Regions from separate parts of the Homo sapiens genome. Here regions 2, 3 and 4 are each linked to region 1. Evidence: promoter capture Hi-C in human tissues and cell types (Jung and others, 2019). All regions are on one chromosome and are shown on one strand. Each heading gives the region's core, a stretch centred on a gene start or on the middle of the fragment in contact. The rest is flanking DNA. Distances are from core to core; before and after follow the strand shown.

The links. Contacts are between HindIII fragments. The study calls those that stand out against the background at their distance.
Region 2: a contact is called between a fragment that was not itself captured here and the fragment with the promoter of ARNT2 in region 1, in 3 of the 25 tissues and cell types used here (IMR-90 fibroblasts, aorta and mesendoderm cells).
Region 3: a fragment that was not itself captured here is called in contact with the fragment with the promoter of ARNT2 in region 1 in 2 of the 25 tissues and cell types used here (bladder and dorsolateral prefrontal cortex).
Region 4: a contact is called between the fragment with the promoter of ZFAND6 here and the fragment with the promoter of ARNT2 in region 1, in 1 of the 25 tissues and cell types used here (hippocampus).

What each region holds. Positions count from the first base shown.
Region 1 is chr15:80,402,733-80,405,979 of GRCh38, reverse strand. It overlaps ARNT2 (aryl hydrocarbon receptor nuclear translocator 2), which reads right to left and starts at 1,598. Exons shown (of 19, transcript NM_014862.4): 1 at 1,434-1,598. The coding sequence starts at 1,464. It overlaps ARNT2-DT (ARNT2 divergent transcript), which reads left to right and starts at 1,784. Exons shown (of 6, transcript NR_184070.1): 1 at 1,784-1,989; 2 at 2,395-2,478. RefSeq lists an enhancer at 1,667-2,167. The HindIII fragment of the contact is 10,967 bases long and covers 1-3,247 here.
Region 2 is chr15:80,791,708-80,794,954 of GRCh38, reverse strand. The region is part of intron 1 of CEMIP (cell migration inducing hyaluronidase 1); the gene reads right to left. Among named protein-coding and RNA genes, the nearest start is that of CEMIP, 14 kb to the right of the region's middle. The HindIII fragment of the contact is 5,902 bases long and covers 1-3,247 here.
Region 3 is chr15:80,037,346-80,040,592 of GRCh38, reverse strand. No RefSeq gene overlaps it. Among named protein-coding and RNA genes, the nearest start is that of ZFAND6, 21 kb to the left of the region's middle. RefSeq lists an enhancer at 385-884. The HindIII fragment of the contact is 5,767 bases long and covers 1-3,247 here.
Region 4 is chr15:80,058,022-80,061,268 of GRCh38, reverse strand. It overlaps ZFAND6 (zinc finger AN1-type containing 6), which reads right to left and starts at 1,593. Exons shown (of 7, transcript NM_019006.4): 1 at 1,460-1,593. RefSeq lists silencers at 1,021-1,890, 1,587-1,915. The HindIII fragment of the contact is 12,222 bases long and covers 1-3,247 here.

The DNA of each region.
Region 1 (3,247 bases), core at 349-2,848:
AAATCAGTCTTCCAGAAAAAGTGATCATGCGATTTCCTTGTTCAATACCATTGAGGTCTCTCTCTCTCTCTCTCTGTCTCTCTCTCTCTTTTCTATTTTATTTTATTTTTCTGGTTCTTAGGAAGTGTGCAGAGGACTCTCCCTTAATGTGGAGAGAGAAAGTCCATACTCCTCAGTCTGTCCTTTAAAGCCTGGTCACATCCAAACAACTCAGTGTTAAATCCCACTGCTGCCTCTTATATCCCCAGTGCACCAACTACTCACTGACCTCTGCACTTGCTTAGAGCAAGTCCACTGTTACTTACGCCTGCAATGCCCCTCTGCTACTGGCTCTGTATATTCAAACATTCCCGTTTTCAAGGTTCAGCCGAAATGTCCAATCTCCAGAAGCCTTCCCTGGCCGCCTTAGATGAAAGGGATCTTTCATTCCTAATTCTATGATGAGAGACACTTTTCTTTGCTAGGCATTGCTGTTCCTCCCCCGACCCTCCCTATCTCCAACACATGACCTCCCTCTGCTGGGAATTTCCTGGGGGCCGCCCTCTGTGACTCTCCCTGCATCTTCCACAGGGACCCAGCAACCTGCCGTGCCCACAGCAGCCTCTGCACAACACCCAAAAGTTTGTACTAGCTTAGATGTTCACGTTTCTCTTCTCCCACACCCTGCTCATCAGGTAGGGAACTTTCCCAGTGAAAACGGAACTTCCCTACTACAATACCAAAACAAGTCAATGTTGCCACTTGATCAAGAACTCTTCCATTTTTGAAATATTTCCTAATGAGCTCAGTTGTCACAGACTGCACCCTGGGGACAGGTCAGACCAGAAAGCAGAGGATGTCACCTGGGCAGGACCAGGGCTGCTCCACGCTGGTGACCACAGGCTGGGTGTTTTGTGCCCCCGGAGGGTTAGGACACACAGCAGCCAGTCGCAAAGGGCGCAAAGGACCAGCGCTTAGTGGGCGGGGCGGGCAGGGGAGAGTCCCGGGAGTTGTACCCTGTTGAATCCCAGCTCCAAACTTTTCCCTCCGTCAGCGCGGAGCCCTCCACCAGCCAGGACTGGCTGACGCCGTGATGCCACAAAAGCCGGGACCGGAAGAGAAAAATGCGTGGGATGGGGAAGGCAAAGGCGGTTATTTTCAGAACTTCGGGGGCTCCCGGGCCTGCCCTTCGGGTTCCCGAGGATGCGAGGCCAGCGTCCGGCCGCCCGCGGGTCCGGACCGGCGCCTGCCCGGGACCGGATGGGCAGCGATTGGGATGCAGATGCCGCTCTGGTGCTGATGCTGCGGCTGCCGCGTAGTGACAGCCGCTCCACCACCCACCGCGCCGAGCTGCGGCTCCGCGCCCCCGGGGGCGCCCGGCGCGCCTGGTCCGCTCCGGCCCCGGGCAAGGCCTGCGGGCTGCGGCGGGCGGCGGGGCCCAGGCCGCTACTCACCCGGAGGGTTGACCGCCGCCGGGGTTGCCATCTTGCTCGGAGAGGATAGGCGCCCGCTTGGCAGGGGCGCGGGAGGGGCGGCGCGGAGCCCGGCGCTCAGCCCCGGGGACCCGGTCAGGCCCAGGCGCCGCCGCCGCCACACAAAGGACGGCGCGGGCGGGCGGCGCTCCCTCCGCTCTCCCCGCCGCCGCGGCCGCTCGCCGTCCCCGCCTTTCTCTCCTCCTCCTCCCCCTCCTCGGCCTCCTCCTCCCGGTTCAGCCTTTGTCGCGCGGCGGGGGGCGCCCGGCCCGCGGCTCCCCGGTCAGAGCGGTAGCACCGCGAGACTTGGGGCTGCGGACGGCGGGACCCCCAAGTTGGGCGCCGGCGACTGGCGGGGGCAGAGGGCCGGGCGCTCCCTCGGGCTCGCGCAGGTGCTCGGGCCTGGCCGGGCTGGGACCGCAGGCGCCTCTCCCGCGCTCGCCTAGCCCGGGCTGCCCCCGCACGCCCACGCCCCAGGTGTCCGGGCGCGCTTTACCCAGGGGCGCCGTGCCCAGGCCAGGAGGCCAGGGCGGAGCGGGTGAGGGAGAAGCCCATTTAGATTCAGAGGGAAGCCGGTCCTGGGAGACGGCCGCGAGGAACAAAGGCGCCCCAGTGCTGCCCACTTAGCATGCCAGAGCCGCGCTGCTCGGCTCCCAGGCCGGGGACACGGCCCGGTGTTAAGCGGAGGGTGCCCGACCGCGGGAATTCCTAAGGCCACGCGCACCTCCAAGGCCACCGCCGCACACAGCTTCGGAGTGCACAGTGCACACGCCCAGGCACAGGCAGCCGGCCCGAGAAATTGTGAATGTCTTGGCTTTGAGTAAGGCGCTCATCTCTACCCTCCTTCCATAATGACTGCCGTTGATTATTACTTGAGGGCGCTGCAAGGGCCTTATTTACACCACCAAGTTGAGAATTTAAAAAGATTTTTTTTTTTAAATAGGTTTATCTGCGTATCCTGGCGAAGTTTGGATGCAGAGAACTTGGAGCTGTTGTTTTCTACCAGACACTAGGATCCCTGAGAGAGGTAATGGCCCCTAGGAAGGACACGTCACCATCGGGGTCCCCTGTAAAGGTTAAATGGAAGAATAAAGACATCCCAGGTGAACGCTGAGAAGGGCAAGTTGGTCCCTAAACGCAGATAATGTTTGCAGAGACATCAAACTGTCTTAAATCCTTCCAAGGAAGCATTTTCTGGAGGGCAGAAAATTTGGGATGTATGTTCAAATAAGCATTTTCTTCGGGGAGTATTTGTCACTACTAATCTAATAGTCTATCAGTTCTACAAATGTTGAATGTCTGCTGTGTGCCAGGCACAAAGCCAGGTGTTGGGCCTACCATGGAAAGGAAGAAACAGGAGCTCTGTTCTTCTGGTTTGGGGGGTAGAGTGGGGAAGAGTGAAACAAAGTATCTGCACTCAAGAAGCACACAGCTCCCTTGGGGGCTTAGGGCAGAAGCCCTGAAATTGGCATCTCCAGCCTGTAGTCACTAATGAATGAATGAGGGCAGAGAGGAGGTGGAGTGATCAGGGAAAATGAAAATTAGGCTTTGAAGACATGAGTAGGACAGGTGGAAAAAGAAGACATTTCAAGTAAAAAATAAAGCAGGTGTGCACCCAGCCACAAGATAGGCCAGGCCCAGACAGAGAAACCAGGGTATCAGCTATGGCCCGCTCTTGTGCCCCGTATCAAAGTTGACTGTTCCTGATTCCAACATCAAGCCAAATGAGAATTCAGCCTCTCTTCTACATACCCCGAAAAGCAACACACTCAAAATACCAACTTAATTAATGTATA
Region 2 (3,247 bases), core at 364-2,863, 390 kb before region 1:
TCTGCCTATGTTGCTTCCCAAAAGAGGCTTTCTCTCCCTGCTCCCACTTCTACTTCCACCAGCCACTTGTAGCAGATCCCCTATTTTTTCTCCTCAAACCTTTCAACTTTTCTTCATATCACTGGCCACAGTTTGGAATCACATACGCCCGTGATTTTTTCATATCTATTTTTTTATATTTGTCTCTCTCCCTAGACCTACACTGTTCCACTAGCCGCCTGTGGCTATTAAGCACGGGAAACATGGCAGGTCCGAATTGAGATATGCTGTAAGCAGAAAATACATACCAATTTTGAAGATTTAGTATAAAAAAATGTAAACAATCTCATTACTTTTTATAGTGACTACCTGTTGAAGTGACAATAGTTTGGATGTATGAGGTGAAAATAAAGTATATTATTAAAATTAATTTTACCTGTTTCTTTTTAAACTTTGTCTTAGTGGGGCTACTAGAAAACTCAGAATTCCAAATGTGGCACCCATTGTATGTCTCCTGGACAGCACTGCTCTAGACTGTAATCTCCATGCAGGCAGGTCTCAGCTCATTTTGGTCACTGCTGCATCCCCAGAGCCTAGCAGCCTCTGCAATATTATAAGCTGACTTCAGTAAACTGCTAAATGAGGGAATAAATGAGTGAATGAGTCAGACAAGCAAAGGAAAAACTTCTGGTTAAAAAAATAGTCATATGAATATGGATACTACAAGTTTGTAAGCTCACTGTTATTTTGTGTGAGGGAGAAATTTCTGATTTGGGACCATTTGGAACAAGCTACAACCCTCTCTAGGGGCCAGATGGGACTACTAGGTCACCTGTGGTTAAACCAGATAAAAATCACAGACAACAGAAAGGCAAAGATAAACTGCTGGAGGGTCTTTGACCTCAAGTTGTCCCACTTTTCAAATCCCCAAAACCAGGAACCCACTTGGCAACACTTTGACCTAAAAATAAAATCATAAATAACAAAAACAACTTGACAAAAGCATTCTACTTAAGTTCAAAGATGACCCTAGTGTTAATAAAACTGTAATGAGCACCTATTAAGAATTTCTGGCGGGGATGCCCAGTTTCATGTGGTGTTTGTTTTTCATCCTATCCCACTAATGAATATTTAGCTCAGTGTTTCCCCAACATAGGTCCCACAGCACCCAAGTCTCAGAAAGTCCTCTGTGAAAATAGAAAGGGAATTCCCTAGACCAACACGTCTGGGAGATACTATACACTATGCACCTCTCCCTGAGAGACATGGTGCATGCTGGTTTACAAAGCCATTGAGAAGATCTTGGAAAATGAAAACAGGTCAACTTTGTTTATCCCAGTTTGTCTCAAACTTGTTTGACCTCAGAATATCTAGTAACAGCTCAAGGAAGCGATGCTCCCAAGAAATGCACTTTAGGAAGGGCTCATCTAAGCTTCATTTCCAAAACCGTAATTAGTGATAAATTATTCTGATCTTGTGGGTAACCCTACCTGTGGGAAACCCAGCTGTGATAACCAGAGTTCCACCATTCAATGGTAACCACTCCCCTTCACTTTGGGTAAGAGAAAAACACCCACCACAGAAGACTTAACCTCGTGTTGATAATGTGTGTAGTTATGCATAATGACAAGTAAATAAGGAACTTTGAGGGCGTTGGTCTAACACACCCAAATTAATTATGTGCCTCTCAACATCTTCCAGTTTCAGAGAGCAGAAGGGGGAAAGACGTCCTGAATGAAAGCAAATAATTGGACAGGTTACACAGCCAAGCTAGGCAAGGAGTTTGTGCCCTTCAAATTTCACTATTGCACCAACCTGCTGCCACCCATGTCAATCTCAAAACCTGCAGCTCCAACGCTTACCCTCTTAATGTGATATTCTGAGCCAGGGCACAGAGATACTAGCAAGTCTGCTTTTTACACTTCTTAAACTGTATTTTCATCAGAAGTCAGAAGACCTGGACTACCTTTCTCTATTCTGTGTCCTACCAATATATGTAAAGCACTTATAAAGTGACTGTAAGTAGTAGGTCTCAGGAAATGCTAGTAAGTAGCTCTCCTCTCAGGACAACATTCATGCCTGAATGTCTCAGTTCTGGAGATACAATGGTGACTGAGATGGACTAGTTCCTGATCTCATGGAGTGTTGAGCTTGACAGACACCACACCGAGGAGACACAATCTCTATCTCTGCAAGGGAACACTAGAGCACATGCCTTGGCCATTCAGATTCTTGTTCTAGGACCAGCTACTGCCCATAGCTTGCCAAAGGTTTAAAGTTTGTAAATTCCCCCAAAGTCACAGCATGGCCATCTCTACATACAGTGTCTGCTAATTCAATCAGCTACATTGACAATTGGAAGAGACATGCTATTTTGTATACCTAGTATGTACAAGATCATAACTCTAAGAAGTTGCCGTGTATTAGTTCACATAGTACACAGAATAATATATAATCATCCTATTTTAGGGGATGGATAAGCAACTGAGGCACAGAAAGGTGAAGTAACCTGTCCAAAGTCAAGCAGCTAACCAGTGCAGGAGGTAGATTTATAACTGGGACTGCTGGGCTCCAAAGCTTATGCCCTTTCCCAGTTTATTACACCAGCTCTAATATTCTACAACCCAAGGAAGATATAAAGTAGACAGCATGCAAACTGGTGGAGAAAGAATATGGAGAACAGTTTATTTTGCAGTCAACAAAACCTAACTGGGCCCTTCCTGGAATACTTCATTATTTCTCTCTTTTTGTCTGATTAGAACCATCTTGGAGATATTGGTGATCTGAATTTAATGTGTTTCTGTTGAATGGAAGAACCCAGCCTTTGTGACTTTCTCTCCTCTGGCTACTTGGTGGGCATACTCAGATTTGCTTTAAGACCACATACAGGGATGGCACTAAAAGAATATTTGTGGGTGGGTTTATTTTGCTAAAATCACCCAAATGTCTGATGACAACTACAGTGCAGAGAAGAGATGAGGACTACGGAAGGTCACCCAGGGGGCATCGGCAGACCAGACCGCATTCAGAGTATCCATCTCATCCAGTTAAGCTTTGAGGAAATTTGAGCTGAATCTGCATCCTTCGTGGTGACTACTCCCTCCTCCCCAAAGGGGAGTCTCACTTGAAATGCTGTCCCTTTATCCCACTTTCCCTCTGCCGCCTCTGCTGCAGGTCAGTCAACAAGGCAGTTAGAAATGTGTCCAAGAATTCATGAAGAATTATGAAAAAATCATAATATCTGCACAGCTCACAAAAAGCCAGCACA
Region 3 (3,247 bases), core at 320-2,819, 370 kb after region 1:
AAATTATAAACAGATACATAAAGTATGTGTTTATATAAACACATGTATTGTGTATATATATGTGTATTTTAAAATATCTATAACTATCTCCTATTTGTAAATATATATACATATTTAAATATATACACACATACACGTATAAATGTAAACACATATATGCCTAGGAAAATAGATGTTTATATTTATATATACACGTGTATATATTTATATATGTATATATATATTTACATATGTGGCATTATAGGTGATGATTACTATTGGCTTTTTTATTCATGTGTTTTTCATATTTTCACCAATTTTATAATCTAGTAAGAATTTTTTTAAAAACGAAAAGGTTATAAAAAAAGGAAAAACCTAATAAAATTGTATAGTATAATCACTAGTGAGTGAAAGTAAGCATAAATTTTGTACATGGAAAAAAAATCTAGGAAAAACTAGAATTAGTGGAAATTTAGATGTTAAAACTTTTTTTTTTCCTCTTTTTATTCCCCCCAAGTCTATGATAATGAATGAATATTAGTTCCGGTGCTAGAAGAAAGTATAATGTAAAAATGTAAATATTTATTAGGTGCACCCAAAGATCATCATTTTAGAGATGGAGAAACTTAGGGGCAAGCAGGGGCATTGGCTGCTAAAGGGGGTGCAGGCTGAGGCAGGTCTCACCTCTGGGTTCTAGAGCTCCTTCCAGCCCCCTTCAAGCTGCCATCACATTTCTGTTCTCGAGTTTGGAGAAAAGGGACACACACCGGTTGGTGCCCGTGCTGGCAGTCTGCTCACATCACACCTAACTGAGGGGTCTCCCCAGGGCCTTGAGCTCCTGGCTGGCTAATTCTACTTAGTGCTAGGGTAACTGAGGTCAGACATCCATGAGGTGGCAAAGTGGGGTGATCAGTTTGTCCCAGTTTGCCTCAGATTTCCCCAGTTTTAGCACCTAAAATCCTGCATTCCAGGAAATCTCTTGGGCCTATAAAAACCAGAACAGGACCAGGCACGGTGGCTCACCCCTGCAATCCCAGTACTTTGGGAGGTCAAGGTGGGTGGATCACCTGAGGTCGGGAGGTGGGGAGTTCGAGACTGGCCTGGCCAACATGGTGAAACCCCGTCTCTATTAAAAATACAAAAATTAGCCGGGCGTGGTAGTAAATGCCTGTCGTCCCAGCTACTCGGGAAGCTGAGGCAGGAGAATCTCTTGAACCCAGGAGGCGGAGGTTTCAGTGAGCCAAGATCGTGCCACTGCACTACAGCCTGGGTGACAAAGCAAGACTCCATCTCAAACAACAACAACAACAACAACAGCAACACAGAACAGTTGGTCACCCTAGAGTGAATTGTGATTCCCAAGAACACCAAACTGGGAACCAGGAGATCACCATTCTCACCCGAACTCCCTGTGTGGTATTACCTCACCTCTCTGGGCCTCAGTTTGCTTATCAGTGAAACAGTATCATCTCCCCGGACTCTACCTTAAAGGGTCGTTTCAAATAAAAAAAAAATGTGAAATTACATTGTAAACTAAGGACTGTGTCCATAGGGGAGGGTCAGGGTGGACTTTGCCCTTGGGGGAGTCAGCTAGAGCCATGGAGGCATGACCACAGCGTTCTGATCACAGCTTACTCTCCATTCTCCTTGACATCCAAAGTCACGCCCACCTAAAATCCTCTCATGAGGTTAATCCAACAAGTCTTCAGCTCTGGTGAGGTGGGACTCCGAGGGTTCTACAAACTTTTTCTGTAAAAGCCTTTGATGGTTAATTTTTTTTTTTTTTTTTTTTGAGACAGAGTCTTGCTCTGTCGCGGCTGGAGTGCAGTGATGCAATCTCAGCTCACCGCAACCTCCACCTTCTGGATTCAAGTGATTCTTCTGCCTCAGCCTCCCAAGTAGCTGGGATTACAGGCGCGCACCATCACGCCCAGCTAATTTTTGTATTTTTAGTAGAGACAGGGTTTCACCATATTGGCCAGGCTGGTCTTGAACTCCTGACCTCGCAGTCCATCCACCTTGGCCTCCCAAAGTGCTGGGATTACAGGTGTGAGCCACGGCGCCTGGCTTTGATGGTTAATTTTATGTGTCAATTTGGCTGGACCACAGTACCCAGATATTTGGTCAGACATTATTCTGGATGTTTCTGTGAGAGTACATTTGGATGAGATTAACATTGAAATCAGTGGATTTTGAGTAAAGTTGGTTGCCCTCCACAATGTTGGTAGGCCTCATCCAATCAGTCAAAGGACTGAATGGTACAAAGACTGACCTCCCCTGAGGAAGAAGGCATCCTGCAGCAGACAGCCTTCAGACTCAAACTGCAACCTTGGCTCTTCCCAGGTCTTCAGCCTGCCAGTCCACCCTGCAGACTTTGGACTTGCCAGCCTCCATAATCACATGAGCCAGTTCCTTAAATCTCTCTCTCTTTTTTTCTTCCTTTCTCTCTATCCTATTGGTTCTGTTTCTATGGAAAACCCTGACTAGTACAAAATCCAAATAGAACATGTTTTAGGCTCTGCAGGTCATGTGATCTCTGTCACATCTACTCGACTCTCCCATTTTAGCTCAGAAGCAGCCATAAACAATACACAAGGTATTGTCCACCTTGGCCTGCTGACATTTGAGGCTGGATCATTGTTTGTTATGAAGGCTGTCCTGTGAACTGTAGGATATTTAGCAGCATCCTAGTCTCTACCCAGTTGATACCAGTAGCACTCCTCAGTTGTCACAACCCAAAATGTAACTGGGGGGAGGGAGGTCTGATATAAATAAATGAGCATGACTGTATTCTATTGAAACGTGATTTACAAAATAGGTGCTATTTTGTAGATACATTATTGTAAAACATTATTTACAAAATGGTTGGTTTGGCCCATGGGCCATAGTTTGCTCTAGGCAGCAGGGTCAACCAATGTCAGCAATGACCTGGAGCTTTGAGGAAGGAGACCCATCATCGGAGAGTGATGAGGGAGCCTGCAGGAGACCTGTAATGTCAAGCCAGATTCCCCTTCCAAAGCATTGGATGGAGCCAAGTCCCAGGCTGAGGATCCTTGCTATATCTTACCTGGAGGTTGTTGGGTCAGATGATGATGCTGTACCTTTGACAGTGCAGTTGCTGCAATGACGGGAGGCCTAAAAGAAGCTTTAATTTTCTTTTTTTTTTTTTTGGAGACAGAGTCTCGCTCTGTTGCCCAGGCTGGAGTGCAGTGGCGCGATCTCGGCTCACTGCAACCTCTGCCTCCTGGGTTCAAGCAGTTCTACTGCC
Region 4 (3,247 bases), core at 344-2,843, 340 kb after region 1:
TATCACTACAAGATAATAAATCCACCGACCCCTGTATTTTCTCCTGCACATTTGTGATGTCTCCCTTTAAACACATTTTAAAACGTAAAAAAGTAAAAATAAAAAAGACAACTTGTTTTGGAAAGCTAAACGTGCATATTTTGCAAAACATTTCCCCTAGGGCTCTGGAGAAACTATACACAACTCAGAAAGTGCCTTAAAATTGGTGACATGGTTACCGAACAACTAACCTTAAAAGTTTATGGTATTTTACACTTTTAAAAAATCAAATTCCGATTTCGGTTTGAAAGAGGAATTTAATCCTGTTTCTCGGAGCTTCAAAATCATTAATTCTGCCCGGCTTTTTTTTGAGACGGAGTCTCCCTCTGTCGCCAGGCTGGAGTGCAGTAGCGCGATCTTGGTTCACTGCAACCTCCGCCTCCCGGGTTCAAGCGATGCTCCTGCCTCAGCCTCCCAGTAGCTGGGACTACCGGCGCCCGCCACCACACCCAGCTAATTTTTGTATTTTTAGTAAAGACAGGGTTTCACCATGTTGGCCAGGATGGTCTCGATCTCCTGACCTCGTGATTAGTCCGCGTCGGCCTCCCAAAGTGCTGGGATTACAGGCGTTGAGTCACCGCGCGTGGCCAATTCTGCCCAGTTTTTATGGCCCAACAACTTAATATAAATTATCTTTAGGTAACCCCAAGGTCCTAACTTCCTCACAACTGGTTACAACTTCCGAGATGTGAAGGTAAATCATAGCGTCCCAACTGTGTAGGATAGTTAGCACGTGACTTAAAAACCAAGTTAAAAAGATTTCAAACACAATATTCTTTCATACTTTTTTAGGTAGCTAAAACTTAAATATAACTATTTCAAAAAAGCAGACAAAAAATTTAGAATCCTAAGCAAGCTAAACCCAAGCAGGAAAAAAAGAGACCAATTCCCTTCCCGGTGCCAGTCAGGAGTTGGAGACACCGGGCTGCCTCCGGCTGGTTTCTGAAAAACGCCGCAGGTGGAAAAACATCCCGAAGAGGACCTGAGACTCGGAGGAGGCGGGGAACTGACGCGCCCCAGTGTGCCCGGGGCCCTTCCGACCCCCGCCAGCCAACCGCTCGCAACCCGCTCGGGGCGGCGCGCGTCGCGGCCTCCGCGGCCCTGAAGAACTGAGGCTCCCGACCCCAGCGCGACCACCCTGACAGGAAGCGGCCCCCGGCCGCGGGCGCCCGCGCGCCGTCTGAGGTGAACCCGCCGATCTCCGGCCCCCACCCCCGGAGCCGGGAGTCCTCGCCCTCTCGCCCGCGGCCCCCGCGGGCCCACCACCTGCTGCGCCGGCCGGCCGCCCTCCGCTTCCGGCTCTCGGGCGCCGGGAGGGGCCGGGGGCGGGCCTCGCCTAGCTGCAGCCGGGTGGGGGAAGGGAGCAGGCGGGGGAGGGGCAGCGCCGGGCAAGCCGGGCCCCGCGGGCCGCGCTCCTCACCTGGCGGCGGGTCTCTCCGCCTGACACGCTGCGCGCCGCCGCCGGTAGCCGCCGGTGAATGGGTACAGGTAATGCCGCCGAACCCCTGCTTGCTCCGGCTCCGCCACCGCCGGCCCCTCCGTCCGCTGTTTATTAAACTTTTCTGTTTGGTTGTTCGGCCTATGACGCGACCGCGGAGGAGAGCCACTGGATTGGCCGGCTCCCGCGGCTGACGCGCGGGCCCCGCCCGCCCGCTAATTATTACCGGCGCGGGCGGGGCCGCAGGCCGGAGGAGGCGGGGAGAGGCGGGGTCAAGGCTCGGAGCGCACGGCAATTGGCCGGAGGCAGGAAAAGAGGCGGGGCGGAGCGAAAGGAGATGCTCCTCCGCCTTCTGCACCTCCAGTGTCCCTTGCTCCACTGCCCTCTCTGGGGCGCTTCCCGCCGCGGTTTCTCTACCTCCAATAGCTACGGGAAGGCGATTAAGAGGTGCCGCGGAGACTTTAAGGGCTTGGTTATGTAGGTTCAGGTACCTTTGCCACCTCGCAGGGAATGGCGTGTCCCTGTCTTGGACTGAGGCACCAAAAAGAGTTGCACTCCACCTGCCACTTGTGCAGGAAGGAATTCTGAGCTTCTGTCTTCCCATGCAGGCCGGCGCCTCAGTCTGCAAGCGCAAAGTCCGAGCTCAGGGCGCATACTGGAAAGCAGTTCTCTGCCCTGTCCTGAACTGGGACTTGGAAATAGAAGCAAGACGAGAAGCGTGCATGCACACGTGTGCAATACATACATGCACAGGCACAAGCACCCCCAGTTCCAGCCTGTTCCAAAAGCACGGGGTCAGTTCCCACCTGCGTGGTGCACGCTGGGCTGCTGCGCTGGAACTAGGGGTGATAGGCAGAATGGCTCCCCCTGAAGTTTTTCAGCCTTCGTTCGGGCTCACGAGCATCACGAGCAGGAAGTACGTGACACTTTAGTTCGAGGTCATTCAATCCTATTGTGAATGAGGAGTTCCGTTAGGGCATCCAGGTAGGCGAGCCCAGTCCTGAGAATCCTCTTTATTTTAAATGTTGGTATTTTGTTATTCATGGATTTTTTTTTTGCATTAATTTTAATTTTAAAAAATAAAAATGTTATTCATCTTGATCACTTAGTTTTTTGGTGCTCCCTTAAATGTTGTGCCTGAAGTGAGTACCTGTTGAGCATTTAGCAACACAGAAGTCACCTTGGGGAGTACAGTTTAAGTGGAGGACAAAAGCCTGATTGGAATGGTAATAAAACCTACTTGTTAGGCTATTTGTGGGGGTTAAATAACATAATATGTGTGAAAGAGCTTCTTGAACTAGCAAGGTTATGCGTCAAGTCTTACGGATTTTGTCTTAAATGTATTTTTCTTCCGATTCTTGTCCAGTTTATCGTTGTATTAACTCCAGCACCTAACCCAGTTGGATTTTCATATGCAGTTATTATGAATTTGCAGAAATTGGGTTTACATGACCTTTACTGCTTTCCTTTGTTCCAGATTCGTTCTGGGAGATTGAGAGATTATAGTATTGCATTGTGACGTGGAATGCAGACAGACCACTGTCACTTACTAGCTTTGTGCTCTTAAGAAAATTGTGTGAAATGGGAACGAAAACCTACCACAAAGGATTGTTATGAGGGTTAAAAGATACTGCATTTCTATTCACCCAGTAAATGCTATATGCCGACTCTCTGCCAGCCTGTGCTGTAGGTGCTGGAGACAGCATTAAGAAAGATGAAGGCCCTTCTCTCATTGACTTACACAGGGGAAGAGAGGGAGCAGAAACAATA